Linked DNA regions of Homo sapiens: all the other regions are linked to region 2. Evidence: promoter capture Hi-C in 16 types of primary human blood cells and fetal thymus (Javierre and others, 2016). All regions are on one chromosome and are shown on one strand. The core of a region is centred on a gene start or on the middle of the fragment in contact, and the rest is flanking DNA. Distances in the headings are between cores, read along the strand shown. Region 1 overlaps BPGM (bisphosphoglycerate mutase). Region 2 holds the start of STMP1 (short transmembrane mitochondrial protein 1). Region 3 overlaps LOC124901750 (a long non-coding RNA gene).

Region 1 (3,483 bases), core at 835-3,334, 1.0 Mb after region 2:
ATCTTGTCAAGTGAGAAACCTCCATAAGCTAATGAAGCCATTCTCTCTTCAGTTAAAGAAGGGCATGGTTAGACAAATTTTGTAGACAGAAGCACCTTTCCACCATCTTTTGATTATAAACTATATCAAGGGGACAAAACAATGTAGTAATAGCAACATGGACACTCAGGCACCCACCACCAAGCTTTGTGGTATCTTATTCTCCTATATTTGCTTACTGCATTAAAACAAAGTTCTGTTTTCTTTTTACTAAAAAAAAAATACACACACACACACACCAGAACAGAGGAACAGTACTGCAGTCACAAAAACTATGCAAATATGCATCCTTCCCTCACTCTGAAGCACAGGAATACATTTACGCAGGTGAATACATGATAAAGTACTAAACTAGTATGTCTATCTCAAGAAAACAAAAGGTCACTTTCCTCTCTCCTCCCTAGTACTATCAACGGACTTTTCCCACTTAACTGCTGGATACTTACAAAGAAACTGCTGAGGATTAGCTTGCAAACATAGAAACTTCAGTCAACATCCACAGGAGCTGATTTACCCAGTGTTTACCAAGAAACACACAACGCTGTAGCCAGTGTGATTTAAAGTTTAAGGCATGGATTGCAAACTCAAATGCCTGCAATGGGCAGGCAGCTGTGTGAAGCAGAGTGCAGCTGGACTATGCAGAGTGATGGGCACAGTGACCTGCAAGGACCATGCATGCTTCTTTGAAGGAGGCAACTCTTGTGTAAACAGAAAGTTTTCCGATAACCTCATCTCACTGAGCCAACAGCACTGTTCTTAGAACTTTTCTGGAAAACAAAAAGAAGATGGGATTGCTGACATCGAAGACTAGGATGAATGCAAGACTTAGAGTCAGACCACAGAGAAACTTTGAGTAAATAAATGTCTTTTTTAAAAAAGCTAAAACAATCATTTCAAAACCTCCTAAAAATTCATGTAAAAAATCAAAGGAGTACCTACTACTTAGCTCCAGCCCATTGCCCTGTGATACTGAGCAACTGAGGTTTCTAGATCTTCCAATTAAAAAAAAAATGAAAACGTGTATTTTTATCTGATATCTGATTTAAATATTAGCAACTAATGTATATTTGTAAAATGTGAGTGAAACAAAACATTTCTTCTGCAGGCTAGATCGTGGCTGCTAGCTTATGACCTCTGACTTAAAGGGAAACCTCCCCTAGGCCACAGATAAATGGTACAGCCACTATACCCCAGGAGACGGTCAGAACCCAAGCGTCTGGACCACTTAACCAGCTTTCCTGTTATTGCCCAACACAGCCTTTCAAAGGACAGACCCTCTAATCCCCATAATGCTCTGGGCTTCCTTCTCCCTGACCCACCTTTACAGCCCTCCCTCACCAAACCATTTGCTGGTGCCCTGCAGAATTCCTAGCTCTGTCCTCAAACTCCCACTCAGCTTTGAGTGTCAATTGCACTGAAAAAGATCTGAACTGAAAACGACCTCTTCCCAGGTGACACTGCTTCTCTCTCTAGTGGGGGGTGCTCATGCCTCATACCCTAGGGTTAGGTTCAGGTGATGGGCAGCGTCCTGCTTCCTCCACTGACCAAATCGCCCCTCCCCCACCATCCTAGGGAGTTGGGGAGCTTCAATGTTGAAAGTCTTGCTATATTCAGTTGAAGTTCTCTTGCCCTCATTTATTAACTGCAAACTAACAATTAAACTCCTTGAAAATTGAGTATCTTATTTTAAAACCTCAATTCTTCCTACTGGTCTTAGAAAATGTTCAGAATCCTTCATGTGACCTGCAAGGCTTTCGTTTTATTTCCTTGAGCATGTCAGGTTCTTTCTTGCCTCAGTAGTTTTGCACACACTGTACCCTATGCAGAACACTCACCCTTCATCTCTTCTCTCCATTGCCACTTCAGTCTCACCCTGCTTTAGGTTAAGCTCTAGTCATCCTTTAGATCAGTTGTGTCCAATCAAGATATAATGCGAGGCACAATGAAGTTTTAAATTTTCTACAAGCCACATGAATCCTATAGGTCCAAAAGCTATCATTCAGACATGGAGTCAAAGGAGATCATTTTGGAACTTTAAGGTGTAACAACTGCTCTATTGGATTTTGGACTTGCATGGGGCCTGCTGTAGCCCCTTTGTTTTGGCCAATTTCTCCCATTTGGAACAGGTATATTTACCCAATGCCTGTAGCCCCACTGTATCTAGGAAGTAACTAACTTGCTTTCAATTTTCTAGGCTCATAGGCAGAGAGGGCTTGCCTCGTCTCAGATGAGACTTTGGATTTGGACTTTTGGGTTGATGCTGAAATGAGCTAAGACTTTGGGCGACTGTTGGAAAGGGCATGATTATGTTTTGAAATGAGAGGACATGAGATTTGGGAGGGGCCAAGACCAAATTTCATCTTGAATTGTAGTTCCCATAATCCCCATGTGTCATGGGAGGGACCCAGTGGGAGGTAATTGATTCATGGGGACAGTTACCCTCATGCTGTTCTTATGATAGAAAGTGAGTTCTCACGAGGTCTGATGGTTTTATAAGGAGCTTTGCCCCCACTTCACTTATACTTCTCCTTGCTGCCACCATGTGAAGAAGGACATGTTTGCTTCCCTTCCACCATGATTGTAAGTTTCCTGAGGCCTCTCCAGCCATGCTGAACTGTGAATCATTTAAACCTCTTTCCTTTATAAAATTACCCAGTCTCTGATATGTCTTTATTAGCAGCATGAGAACTAATACAATTCTAACACATGATCCATACAAAAATTATTAATAAGGCAATTTACATTCTTTTTTTTCACAGTATGTCTTTGGAATCTGGTGTGTACTTTATAATGAAAGCATATCTCAATGTGAACCAGCCACATTTCAAGTGCTCCATAGCCACATGTGACCAGTGGCTACCGCACTAGATCATGCAGCTTTAGAGCTCAGCTTAAATGTTAGTTCCTGTAGGCCAGTGGTTCTCAAACTTTAATGTATATCAAAATCAAATTAAACAGATTGCTTGGGCCCACTTCCAGAGCTTGATTTAGTAGGTCTGGGGTGGGACTGTGAATATGCATTTCTAGCAAGTCCTCAGGTGATGGTGACATGGCTGGTCCAAGGACCATGTTTTGAGAACCCCTGGCTTTAGACTTCCTCTTCACCCATTGGGAAGTAGGTCAGGCCTGCTGACCTACTCCTGTAGCATCCCGCTTAACCACATTTGGTGCACTTGCGATGGATCCCTTGAGATATATTACCTGTTCAATGGCTATGTGCCCTGTAAGACTGTAAGCTGCATCAAGGCAGGTCTTACTGCTGTATCTCTAGAACCTAGCACATCGCTTGGCACATATGAGGCACTCAGTAGGTGTACTGACTGAACCAAAGTCAGACAGAAATGACTGGATTGTACACATGAGACTAAGGCTTGAGAGTTTTAGTGGTAACTGCCACAGTAAAATCAGTTGGCAGGGCTAAGATGTTAGGAAACTTTAACTTAA
Region 2 (3,494 bases), core at 572-3,071:
GTAAAAGTTTATTGCAAAACCAAATAGACTCATTCTGCAAAACCACTTAGAAAGTTAACTGTAATTGAATCATGTCCTCTCAGTTTATCAATGAGCAACAGATATAGTAAGCAGCTCAATTACATCATTCTATACTCTGGAGCTAAGTGATACCGCTTTTAATCTAGTGTTTACTACAAGAAAATGACTGTCATTATTCTGAACTCCTAAACTAACATCTAGTTAGGACACTACAGAAACTCCTAGAGGCAAAGGAGCAGCCCTGTCTTAGCTGGGCAGATTAAGGACACTCTTTTGACTAATTGGATTTAACAATCCATTACCATCTTTCAAAAGGACAAAAGGGGTGCATTTTGTGTTTTAATCTCTTTGATAAAGATACAGCATTTGGGGCCGGGCGCGGAGGCTCACGCCTGTAATCCCAGCACTTTGGGAGGCTGAGGCAGGCAGATCCCGAGGTCAGGAGATCGAGACCATCCCGGCCAACGGGGTGAAACCCCGTCTCTACTAAAAATACAAAAATTAACTGGGCCTGCTGGCGCGCACCAGCTACTCGGGAGGCTGAGGCAGGAGAATCGCTTAAACCCAGGAAGCGGAGGCTGCAGTGAGCCGAGATCGCACTACTGCACTCCAGCCTGGCGACAGAGCGGGACTCCGTTAAAACAAACAACAAAAAAAGATACAGCATTTGAGCCGGGAGCAGTGGCTCACGCCTGTAATCCCAGCACTTTCGTAGGCTGAGGTGGGTTGATCACTTGAGGTCAGGAGTTCGAGACCAGCCTGGCCAACTTGGTGAAACCCGTCTCTACTAAAAATACAAAAATTAGCTGAGCATCCTGGTGCGCGCCTGTAATCCCAGCTACTCCGGAGGCCGAGGAGGGAGAATCGGTTGAACCCGGGAGGCGGAGGTTCCAGTGAGCCCAGATTGCGCCACTGCACTCCAGCCTGACGACACAGCGAGACTCCGTCTCAAAAAAAATAAAAAATAAAAAAAAATAGAGGTTGAAAGCATCAAGTTTTGAATGCACAATAGCTTGGCAGAAAAACTTTCACTTGAAAATTTGATGAGCAACTCCTGGAACCTTCACCAAGCAATTTTTGAAATATACCGAGTTTTGCCAGAAAACTCGTTTTTAACTCAAATAAGGAGCCAAGAGAAATAGTCTGCTTACTCATGCTTACACATTTTGGGAAAAATTACTTGTATACCAGTGTCTGACTCATTCCTCCAACTCTGAAAGGTCTGATGAGGACTTAGCCTCTCGGACTTCGTGAGGTGGCTAATTTACGGTTTATTCCTGGCCTTCCTACCTCCTCAGAAAAGCCAACTAGCAGGGCTCCACAGCAGGGACCGGCCGGCGACCATGTAATGGAACAGGAGCGCAGAAAGAAAGGGGGGCGGACTACGAAAAGTCATCAAGGACCACACAAGCTTTAATACAAAGATTGCACAATGAGCGCGGGGCGCGGCACACAATAAGAAGCTCTGGAAACGCACACTCTCTGACACCTCAAAGTTTTAGGGACTTGGATGGCTGCAGAAAAATATTGGCAAAGGGATTTTCTGGGGAGGCAGGAAGAAAACGGCCGCCCTGCGAGGCGACGACCAGGCGCGGGGGACGAAGGGACCGCTGGACCCACGCCCAGGCCGGGTCGGCGGGGTCGGCAATCCTCAAGGGGGAAATGGGGTCCGAGGCACGCCCCAGGCAGCGGGCCCCGCTCTTCGGCAGCTCCACTCACCAGGAACTGGAGCATGATGTCGGTGGGGAGGGCGAGGAGGGCGCGAAGGACTGCAGCAGCTCCGCGGGCCGGTCCGAGCCTACCTCCCCATGCGCGGGGGGGGCGGAACCCCTCGTCGACTTCCGGGTCACGCCACGCCCCGCCCCGCTCCTCCCACTCAGCCCGCGCCCGGAAACGACTTGCAGTGTCGCAGCGCCCAGGTTCCCCCTGGCGGAGCGCGTTGGCCTCACCGCCTGAACCGGCGGGGCAGCGAGCGCGCGACAGGACTTGCGAAGAGCAAGTCCCGAGCCTGGCTGGGCATCCTTGAGCATCCCGCCTCTGTAAACCTGGGCCGAGGCCCAGGAATCTATATTATTCTCAGCACGCGGACTATTCTGATACACAGCCCAGTTTAGGGCTCTCTAACCTAGAAGGACGGCATGAGCAGCGGGTCCCATCCCTAGGTTCGCAGCTGAATCGTGGGGGCTTTTGCAGCATCCTCTACTTGGGCCCAGCTGGACTTTGCGGGGAGGAAAGGAGGCTTGTAGCTCTCAAAGCTCCGCAGGTGTGCTGTGTAATCAGCGTTGTGTAATCAGGTGTTGTGTAATCAAGGTAGAGGCTGGGTACCGTATGGGGCCCATGCTGCCGTGTGCCGCACGCCAGTCACTGAGATGATGAGTTTTGTAGCAGAGAAAAGGTTTATTCACCAGGCAGCCAGCCGAGGAGACGGGAGAACAGATCTCAAATCTGCCTCCCCAAAGATGGGTTTTAGGGATATTTATGGGATAGAGGAGCAGGGTGGTCTGAGGTGTGGGGAAAGGCGGTTGAAGGTAAGGAAAAGTTTGGCAATGGGTTATCTGCGCGAGGTAGTCAAGCTTCATGGCTCTTTATAGGATACATGGTCACAAAATGACATCCTTAGCATGATCTGAGTGTGGAGGTTTTGGCCCTCTAATGTCAGAAGGACACCCATCGGGCTTTCATGCAGGCCCAGTTGAGAGGTTGGTGGTTTAAACTGTACAAGAACTGACCCCAACTTCCTGAAAAACAAGAAACCTTTATCAAGCAACCCAGATGTCAGAGATGTTATCCATAAGGAAGATAGTGGGAGCTTAGATATATATTGTTTAGCTCTGTGACTTTAGCTATGTGGGTTTTTTAATCCACTAAAAGCAGGTGACTAAAAACAAGTGAGAGAAGTTGCATTTGGCAGGCCTCATCAGGTTGGCTCTCAGTTTCACTGGCCTAGCTGGGTTTCTTGCCTGGGATGGCCATAGGTCCTGTTGACAATTTGTATCATCGCCACAAAGAGTCTGTTCTGTCAGTCTTCCGGTCTGTGTATGTGTGTGTTTTTTTCTCTCTTTCTCTTTTAAAGAATTTATTTTAAGCCTATTATACCACACAGTATGTTTTAAACACTAACTCCCTAATAAGATATATAACTCCCTAATAAGATAAAGCAAAGACAAAAAAAGTTCATCTTATTAGAAACAAGATACACCATCCCTTATTGTCTTCAAAAATTATTGCACTTTAATTTTCATAATTTGACAAAGCATTCATGAAACAATCTGCAGACTAGTTTTAACAGACAAATAACACCTGTAAGCAGACATGACTGTCCTAAATTATTAGGTACGAATTTTACAAACTTTTTTTTTTTTTTGAGACGGAGTCTCGCTCTGTCACCCAGGCTGGAGTGCAGTGGCGCAGTCTCGGCTCACTGCAAGCTCCGCCTCCCGGGTTCACGCCATTCTCCTGCCTCAGCCTCCCGA
Region 3 (3,414 bases), core at 476-2,975, 1.0 Mb after region 2:
TCAGTACCAACCACTAAATTCCAGTCTCTGCCAGGTGAGTGTCCTAACTAGTTTCTGATGTTGTCACTCTGTGAGGTATCAGATAAGAGGAATAGGTAAATTGCTGTTTGCAACCAGAAGATGTAAAAATCAGATAGGGAAGAAAAATCACTCTCATATGATGTTCTCTTTACTAAGTTACGACTTATAAAGTGAGTAATGGCAAAGGCTTCAAAGCTTGGTAATTCGAAGTAAGATGATGTTTAGATTGCTAGGATCCTGGATCACTATCACAGCCGAAACAAAGAAGGAACTGCAGTGCCAAATGACATACATGTCTTCACCATCAGAATACCAACAAGTGTATAAAGGCCTGGCATTGATATATTGCTAGAGTTTCCCTTCTGTAGATAATTGTTTTTATGCACAGCAGGAAAGGACCTGTGTTCTCAGCTCCAAACCCAGCTATATTCAGTAAAACAAGAATAGACCAACCTCTAACAAAATATTATGGAAAATGCTTTCATTTCTTTTCTTCTGAAAAAAGGTAACTATAGCATATTCTCTTCTCCTAAACTCATCTATTTCCTTATGCTTTGCTGCATCTCTGCCCTCTCTAAAAATGGGAGAAAAAGGAGAAAAAAAAAGGATAAAGAAGAAGAATAAGTAAAGTCTTCAGAAGTGTACAGGTTCTGGTCTCAACTAGCAAATCAATAAGTAACCAATTATTCATTGAATTCCTCCTAATGTTCAAGAACTTGTGTTAGGAATTTTGAAGGAAATGAATTAGTATTTTTCGTGCCTACTATAAACAAGTCACTGTGCCAAGTACAAGAGATATATAAATAAATTAAACATCCTCCTTGTCCTCAAGGTCCAGTAGGGGAAAGACTAACTCAAGTGTTTGTTACAGTCCAACAAATACAAGTGCAAGTAGAATGAGTAAGGGCTCACAGAGTATTTTGGGGTGGAAAGGGAGAGCGTAAGTGCAGGGTTGTAATAAGTTTAGATATTTGATGGAAGAGGTGAATTCTGAGCAATGTTTAAATATGCACAGAATTTCCAGTCAGAATTGCATAGTAGGTTTCCACTGTAAACATCCAGCAGTATTAAATAACATAAAAAGAAAATGCCCAAAATATATTCTAGGGTTCGAAAACAGTATAAACATTTCCGTGGACCAAAGACAGAATAGAAACACAGAGCCAAAGCCCTGATGTGCTCTGAGAGCAAAGGCCGCTGTAGAGGATGCTATTTCCACTCCTCCCAGGTAGCACGGTCTAGCATGTACTACACTAGAAGGTGGTTGCTTAAGGGGTGGGGCTTCCTGTTTTGAAAGAGGTTGGGAATCCTGAACTGCTGCCATTGCTGCCTGGGGCAACGGCATATCTCAACCAGCAACAGAAGAAGAACTCAAGGACATTAGATGCAGTCTTTCCACTGGAAACTGGCCTGGAAGAAACAGTGGAGAGACTGAAGATACTGGAGATGAAGTGCTGGAAACCTGGTGGGGTCAGAGGAGCAGGGAAAGCACAGTCTTTGAGCTCATTCTTCTAAAGTGGCCCTTTCTTGGATCACATTTTAAAAGAAATACATTGACATAGGTTTAAAGACTCTGATAATGGAAATTAGAGGGAGCGGTATGAAAGGAACTCTGTGACCATGGAGAATTAGTCAATGTGAAGATTCCTCCCAACTAGCAGTATAGACTTCCTTGCCTGGCCCCACCCCCAGACTAAATCCTTGTGTTATACCCTCCATGTGTCATTTACAGAAAGAGGTGGGATTGGAGCACAGTAACTACTCTGCTGATTTCCCAATACTGGCTAATTTTTGAAATTGTCTATCCATTCTTTCTTGGAAGAGAGGCACGTTTTTTTCGGCTCAAATACCCTCATTTGTTGCTTAGAAAATACCATCTATCAGCTGGGTGTGGTGGCTCATTCCTGTAATCCCAGCACTTTGGGAGGCTGAGGTGGATTGATCGCAAGGTCAGGAGTTTAAGACCAGCCTGGCCAACATGGTGAAACCCTGCCTCTATCAAAAATACAAAAAAAAAAAAAAAAAAAAAAAAAGAAAAGAAAAAAAAATTAGCCGGGCATGGTGGCATTCACCTATAATCCGAATTATTCAGGAGGCTGAGGCAGGAGAATAGCTTGAACCTGGGAGGTGGAGGTTGCAGTGAGCTGAGATCATGCCACTGCACTTCTGCCTGGGCCACAGAGCGAGACTCCATCTAAAAAAAAAAAAGAAAAGAAAATACCATCTATCGCTACAGACACAGGTAAGAGAAATGAATGTAGCCTTGAAAAGGAAGTGAAAGAAGGCCTGAATGATAGAAATGTGGTCTGGGCTTTTCTTAATTGTTGTCCAAGGGGGCACCTTCCTAGGACCCAAAGAAGTTTAAAACAAAATGTGGGCAATGAGGCCTGGAAAACCATTGAGGTGACACTAGCTTTGGTAAACTCACTATGTGTAAGGTTTCCCACTCAATTTTGTAGACTCAGAAGCTCAGCCCACCATTTTATAAGCTATAAAAGATAATGATTCTATTGTTTCCAAGGTTTTTATGATGTATCTCCTTGTTTTTTCATGCACCACCAAATATAAACTCACTATTCCAATCACTGTAAATTTTGAAACTATTACTAAAAAGTGGCTTGGTGCCCAGCAATTATCTCCCAGCAATCTCTAATCAACCATTCTTATAAGTTACTGTCATTGAACCAAATGGAAATATTTAATTCAGTTTAATATCTGTACAGATACCCCATTTTATTGCTCTTCACTTTACTTCATGCTGCAGATACTGCATTTTTCACAAATTGAAGGTTTGTAGCAGCCCTTTGTCAAGCAAGTCCATTGGCGCCATTTTTTTCCAACAGCATCTGCTCACTTTGTATCTCTTCCACATTTTGATAATTCTCAGGACATTTCAAACTTTTTCATTATTATATATGTTATGGCGATCTGTGATGAGTTGTCTTTAATGTTACTATTGTATTGCTTTGGTGTGCAATGAACTACACCCATATACTACATCAAAGTTAATTGATAAATGTGTGTGTTCTGACTGCTTGACTGACCAGCCATTCCCCCATCTCTCCCCATTTCCTCGGGCCTACTTATTCTCTGAGACACAACAACATTGGAATTAGGCCAATTAATAGTCCTACAGTGACCTGTAAGTGTTCCAGTTAAGGGAAATCACATGTCTCTCACTTGAAATCGAAAGCTAGAAATGATTAAGCTTAGTGAGGAAGGCATGTTGAAAGTCAGAGAGGCTGAAAGCTAAGGCTCTTGCACCAAACAGCCAAGCTGTGAATGCAAAGCAAAAGTTCTTGAAGGAAATTAAACTCTAGGGAACACACAAATGATAAGAAAGTGAAACAGTGTTATTGCTGATATGGAGGTTTTAGTGGTCTAGATAGGAGA

What was found. Contacts are between HindIII fragments. The CHiCAGO score rates a contact against its expected background, and 5 or more counts as called.
Region 1: a contact is called between a fragment that was not itself captured here and the fragment with the promoter of STMP1 in region 2, in 1 of 17 cell types (neutrophils). The highest score is 8.5, in neutrophils.
Region 3: a contact is called between a fragment that was not itself captured here and the fragment with the promoter of STMP1 in region 2, in 1 of 17 cell types (erythroblasts). The highest score is 5.2, in erythroblasts.

The regions. Positions count from the first base shown.
Region 1 is chr7:134,655,671-134,659,153 of GRCh38, reverse strand. The region is part of intron 1 of BPGM (bisphosphoglycerate mutase); the gene reads right to left. The region is part of intron 1 of LOC124901750 (a long non-coding RNA gene); the gene reads left to right. Among named protein-coding and RNA genes, the nearest start is that of BPGM, 11 kb to the right of the region's middle. The HindIII fragment of the contact is 3,796 bases long and covers 187-3,483 here.
Region 2 is chr7:135,660,841-135,664,334 of GRCh38, reverse strand. STMP1 (short transmembrane mitochondrial protein 1) reads right to left here and starts at 1,821. Exons shown (of 3, transcript NM_001130929.2): 1 at 1,741-1,821. The coding sequence starts at 1,755. RefSeq lists enhancers at 38-562, 563-1,087 and a silencer at 1,727-1,946. The HindIII fragment of the contact is 1,162 bases long and covers 1,435-2,596 here.
Region 3 is chr7:134,636,024-134,639,437 of GRCh38, reverse strand. The region is part of intron 1 of LOC124901750 (a long non-coding RNA gene); the gene reads left to right. Among named protein-coding and RNA genes, the nearest start is that of BPGM, 9.1 kb to the left of the region's middle. RefSeq lists an enhancer at 3,303-3,392. The HindIII fragment of the contact is 3,013 bases long and covers 219-3,231 here.